Regions from separate parts of the Homo sapiens genome. Here region 2 is linked to region 1. Evidence: promoter capture Hi-C in human tissues and cell types (Jung and others, 2019). All regions are on one chromosome and are shown on one strand. Each heading gives the region's core, a stretch centred on a gene start or on the middle of the fragment in contact. The rest is flanking DNA. Distances are from core to core; before and after follow the strand shown. Region 1 holds the start of ITGBL1 (integrin subunit beta like 1). Region 2 overlaps TM9SF2 (transmembrane 9 superfamily member 2).

Region 1 (2,767 bases), core at 108-2,607:
GGTGGTCTTACCCTTATACCTACTTATATATAAAGGACAGGGAGAAATCCCATCCTATTATGGCTCATCCCTGATTTTAAGGATCTGGGACCACAGATGATTCTTGGATGGTTCTATTTCATGAGGAAGGATTGCATGTACAGTGCTCTTCTTAGGGTGAATGAAAAATGTTTTCCCCCTTCCATATAACCCTCTACACATTTTCCCAGATGACCATAAATGTAGGGGATAGTGTATGCACTTTGGATTTCAGCTGAAATACGACTAACTTCCTCTGTGAATTTGAGCAAGTCAGTTGACCTCTTTGCCCTCAGTTTCTTTATCTTTAAAATGGGAGTAAGAATGTCTCCCTGTTCTCTTCCATCTCCTTCTTATTTCTACCCAATTTAATTCAATACTTTTTTCAGTTTTTTGTTCAGATGCTACCATCTTTGATTAGATCAAGTGCCTGTATCTCATCTGGAAGTAACTTCTCACTGCACTTGCAACCCTTTGTTCTTTTTTTTTGTGGTTTTGTGTTGATTAATGTCTTTCTAGCTCATTGGACTCTGAGAGAGCAGGGATCATGTCTCCTTAGTTCTCTGTTATATTCATTCTGTCTTGCACAAAACCTGGCACCTGATAGATGCTAAATCCCCATTTGCTAATGCATAAATAAATGTGTGATTATTGTCATAATTAGAGAAAACATACTAAATGACTGGCACATAGTAGGTGCTTAGTAAATGACACCAATTGTTTTTCAGTGCAATTTGTGCTATAAATAAACATTTAATTTTCTTTTCTCACATTTGATATATGGGGAGAATGGGGTGAATTTGAGACAACTACAATTTAAACTGTCCAAGTCACCAACAAATTGTGGTGTGATAAGCTACTGGCCTAAACAGCTGGAAGCATGACACGCTTTTTAAAGACTAAAGAAATGAAATATCCAGTTTAAATCAAAGGATAATAAATGCAAGAAAAAGTTGTGTTTGTCAGATTTCCTTGCCCCGGCCCCAACCCAAACTCCAAAGAGTGCATCTACTTTAAAAGCGTGTGGTGAAAGTAATTCCCTACCCAAGTGTTCCCACTACTGTCACTGGCCTCACCCTTCTCCACAACTCAGGGATTATTTTAAAGGTTTCTTTAATATCGGCCAGTCCAAATATTCTCTTGTCAAATATTTCTGTGGCCCGTACTTGAAATCTGTGAACAGGACACTTTTTTTTTTTTTAATGTCAAAATAAACCATCTGCTTGTACAACTGTTTCTAATTACTTCCCTGCCTAGACTCTCCACTGAGGGGTTTGGCACCAGCACCCCGCCCAGAGCAGTGCCGCTGCCCAAATCCTCGCAGGCAGCTCATCAACGCAATTGCAACTCCGGCTGGAGCCCCGGACCTGCAAGCCTGGGTGTCCGTGGGTCCGTCTGCCCAGCCATCTGCTGGTGGCACCTCTCCCTCCTGCCGCCTCCCTCGGTGAACCCCACCTTGCAGAAGTGCAGCTCGCCCGGAGCAGCCCAGGAGCTCAGCATGCGTCCCCCAGGCTTCAGGAACTTCTTGCTGCTGGCGTCCTCCCTTCTCTTTGCTGGGTTGTCAGCTGTTCCTCAAAGCTTCTCGCCATCTCTGAGGTAAGTTTGGTTTGTTATTCTTCAGTACAGACCTGCCCTGCTTATGTGGCAGGGCTCAAGCTTGCAGGATGGCTGCCCTAAGCCAAGAGCTGTTATTAAATTGGACAAGGGATAAACTGTTTTCAACCTGTTCCTTTTCCTCTCCTTATATCTACAGCGTGTATTGCCTCATGTCTGTCCTTTTGCTTTTCCTTTGGAAAAATGCAATCATTGAATAAAAATATAATTTTCTTTTCTGCAAATACATATCAGGAGGAATTCCTGCTGTGAGTTAAAATGCTATGTGTACCAGTATCTTCTCACAACATGTAAAGCAGAATGATCTGTTTCCCAAGGGCAGCAACAGGAGGTCTGTGTTACATTTTGTATCATCCTGAAAGAGACTGAGTGAGGCACACTGCAATAGTGAAACTAAACTTTTTAAAAGTAGAGTTCCTAAAGACTGCTTAATGCAAATTATGCCCGATGCTATCATAGCATGTCTAACTCTTTCTATAGATTCACGTTTTCTCTTCTGTAATATAAGTGCCCATTGGCCATCAGATAGCAGTGGGACGTTTTTTAAAGGAGAACTGAAAAGTCAGCTGAGTGCCGTACCTTGGATTACTTTGTATTTAATCTAAATGTGCATATAAGATTTAGTGATAAACTACCAAAGAGCAGGGCAGTTCACCTCTGTCCACCTGGAGGAAGGACCTGTGTCCGGGGGCAGGTCACCCATTACACATTTTGGGCCCTGGTCATTTCTCTGGTGGGTGATACCTGTTTGCTTGGGAAAATACAGCCCTTCCAGGCAGCGCTTGGACCCCAGAGAGATGTGGGCCTCAGGCGTCCTGTTCTTGGGGTTGTACGTCTGCACCTGGAGGGGACACTGGGGAGGAAACGTGGGTTCGGAGCAGGGGGCGGCGTCCGCGTCTGACCCGGCCTGCCGGTTGCTTGTCGCCCGCGCAGGAGCTGGCCGGGCGCCGCCTGCAGGCTGTCCCGGGCCGAGTCGGAGCGACGCTGCCGCGCACCTGGGCAGCCCCCGGGGGCCGCGCTGTGCCACGGCCGGGGCCGCTGCGACTGCGGCGTCTGCATCTGCCACGTGACTGAGCCGGGCATGTTCTTCGGGCCCCTGTGTGAGTGCCATGAGTGGGTGTGCGAGACCTACGAC
Region 2 (2,767 bases), core at 168-2,667, 1.9 Mb before region 1:
GACTCTGTCTCAAAAAAAAAAAAAAAAAATAGAAATGGAGTCAGCACAGCCTTGGGAGCTGACCTGTTCACAGCCTCCTGTGTGGGAATGGACTGGTGCAGCGTGGGGTGTAGGTGCACAGTTACAACTCTGTAAGGTTTCTCCATCCCTGACACATACCTGTTTGTGAAACCACAAAGTTGAATGGAATAACTCCTAAGCAATTTTTATTTGTGTGGTTAATTTTTTAAAATTAATCTTAACAAATTTGTATCATTTCAACCTTTTGATATATTTAAAATAATTGCATGTTCCAGCCTCTTTAGTCTCAAACTTTTTAAGTTGCACAGTGTTACACATTTTCTACTCTTCATTTCATGGCAGCATAATAAAAGAATTTTCACAAGAATCACAGTAATTTGGAATGAATGCAAAAAACTCAGGTTTTTATTGTATTCTCTTCCCCCAGCTTCTTCAGCCTCCTGTCCCCCAACCTCTCTGACCTGTTCTGATTGGGGAAAATATATATGAATATTCATAAGCTTTTAACGTTTGTACTCTATAGTCTCTTTCCTATGATTTTTATTGATTTTATGTCTTATTAAATATTAAAATGATTTTAAAATACTCTGTTTATAATTGGCTGTTCCACATAATTGCTGTTAATGGAGTTTTATCTTAATTTGCACAGCGTTGCCATGTGGAACCAGGCCAGTGGTGACTCTGCTTCCACAACCCTGTCCTACTTCCCATCTCTTAGCACAGCAGTCAGAGTGAAACTGCTCAAACAGAAGTCAGATCATTTCACTCTTGAGCACGGCCCTCCAGGGACTTCTGTTCAGTCAGAGCAAGAGTCAGAGGCTTTACAGTGGCTTCTAAGGCCCCACGTTACCTCAGCACTCTGCTGCACCTGTGCCGGCTACCTTGCTGTTCCTCAGACCAGGCAGACATAGGTTTCCACCTCAGAGCCTTCACGAAGCTCACTGTTTTATCTGCTAAGAAGGTCTGCCCCTCATTTACATGGCTAGTTCCCTTACCTCCCTCCGATCTTTACAAAATGTGATCTTCCCATTGAACCCCTCCCAGCCATCACATATGTTACATCCTGTCCTGCACACACCCATACATCCTGTTTTTCTGTACAGCGCTTATTACCATCTAATGTACAGTATACTTTCCTGACTTATTTTGTTTATTGTCTGCCTTCCCAATGAGATCATGTACTCCTGAGAGTAGGAATTTTTCTGTTACACTCACTGTGGTATCTGGTGTTTTAAACAGAGCCGAGCTTATAGTTGGTGCTCAATGAATGTTTACATCCATGCTTACTGTATTAGCAAAGTAGCTAGAATATGAGAGCTAATGCCATTTGCTTATTGTGGAGATCATTAAGAGTAGGATGAAGAGGATAGAATGTGACTAAAAATCGTCATCAAGTCAGATCACAAAGCTTGACTTAGAGTAGAATTAGGTAGCAATCACATTGTCTTTGTAAAGTTTCTCAATAAGTATATTTGTAGACCTTAATGTCATAAATTTAAGAAACTGACATATAAGACAGTTCAGCAAAGCCATATTAAGCTCCATGAGTCAAGCTGTATTCTTCAAAATTGAAATAGGTACTAACATTTTTAAGTTTAAAAAAAACCTGTTTTCTGTAACAGCATATTCAACAGTGAACAAACTGTCTATAGTTGTCTTGTTGATACCATGAGACAATCGAACTGATTTCATTCCCCTTTTAGGAAGATGCCCAGGAAGAATTTGGCTGGAAACTTGTTCATGGTGATATATTCCGTCCTCCAAGAAAAGGGATGCTGCTATCAGTCTTTCTAGGATCCGGGACACAGATTTTAATTATGACCTTTGTGACTCTATGTAAGTGTTAACTGAAAATTTTCAAGTAGAAAATACTTTCTAAATACAGTAATTGCTTAAAAACCAGTTTTTCTGGCCGGGCATGGTGGCTCATGCCTGTAATCCTAGCACTTTGGGAGGCCAAGGCGGGTGGATGACAAGGTCAGGAGTTTGAGACCAGACTGGCCAATATAGTGAAACCCCGTCTTTCTACTAAAAATACAAAAACTGGGCATGGTGGCAGGTGCCTGTAATCCCAGCTACTTGTGGGGCTGAGGCAGTAGCTTGAACCTGGGAGGCGGAGGTTGTAGTGAACTGAGATTGCGCCACTGCACTCCAGCCTGGGTGACAGTGCAAGACTCCATCTCAAAAAAAAAAACAAAAAACACCACAGTTTTTCTAAGTGGGTAGGTAAGCCAGATTATTTCTGAGCATCCTTTAGGTTCTCAAAATCTAAGTGACTTGGGGCAGGTTTAGTTGCACCCAAAGACTGACTCTTGGTTTCTCCCTTCAGCTCTTCCTAGACCAAGCCTTTGTCAGGGAGGCACTGGGCTGGAGATGAACAGGTCCTTAAGACCATCAGCATCTGAGTCTAAACAGCCCAGAACTGGGACCATTTAGGGTCTCTTTTACCCAGGCATCGTGGGCAGGCACAGTCTGGTTAGGGTTCCAGGATATTCTTGGCTTCCACGGAGGGAGGAGGGTGGGAAAAGAAGGGATGGGGCAGGAAGCACTGTGTAGATCCTTCTCATCTGGGGAGGATTTGGGAAGCAGGATCTCTCTCCTCTAGGGAAAGCGAGTGTGTAGGAAAGACCTTCCTTCCTCCATAAAAAGATTCTCTTCTTTGAGCTACCTCAGCGACTTCAGAAATTGTATTTAAATTTTTGCCAACTAGGACAATTTTTTTTTTTAAATAAATGTTCCTTAGAGG

What was found. Contacts are between HindIII fragments. The study calls those that stand out against the background at their distance.
Region 2: a contact is called between a fragment that was not itself captured here and the fragment with the promoter of ITGBL1 in region 1, in 1 of the 25 tissues and cell types used here (dorsolateral prefrontal cortex).

Annotation. Positions count from the first base shown.
Region 1 is chr13:101,451,318-101,454,084 of GRCh38, forward strand. It overlaps ITGBL1 (integrin subunit beta like 1), which reads left to right and starts at 1,358. Exons shown (of 11, transcript NM_004791.3): 1 at 1,358-1,614; 2 at 2,566-2,767. The coding sequence starts at 1,517. RefSeq lists an enhancer at 936-1,440. The HindIII fragment of the contact is 7,410 bases long and covers 1-2,767 here.
Region 2 is chr13:99,542,139-99,544,905 of GRCh38, forward strand. It overlaps TM9SF2 (transmembrane 9 superfamily member 2), which reads left to right. Exons shown (of 17, transcript NM_004800.3): 10 at 1,725-1,857. Among named protein-coding and RNA genes, the nearest start is that of LINC01039, 34 kb to the right of the region's middle. RefSeq lists a silencer at 693-762 and an enhancer at 1,113-1,172. The HindIII fragment of the contact is 3,817 bases long and covers 1-2,767 here.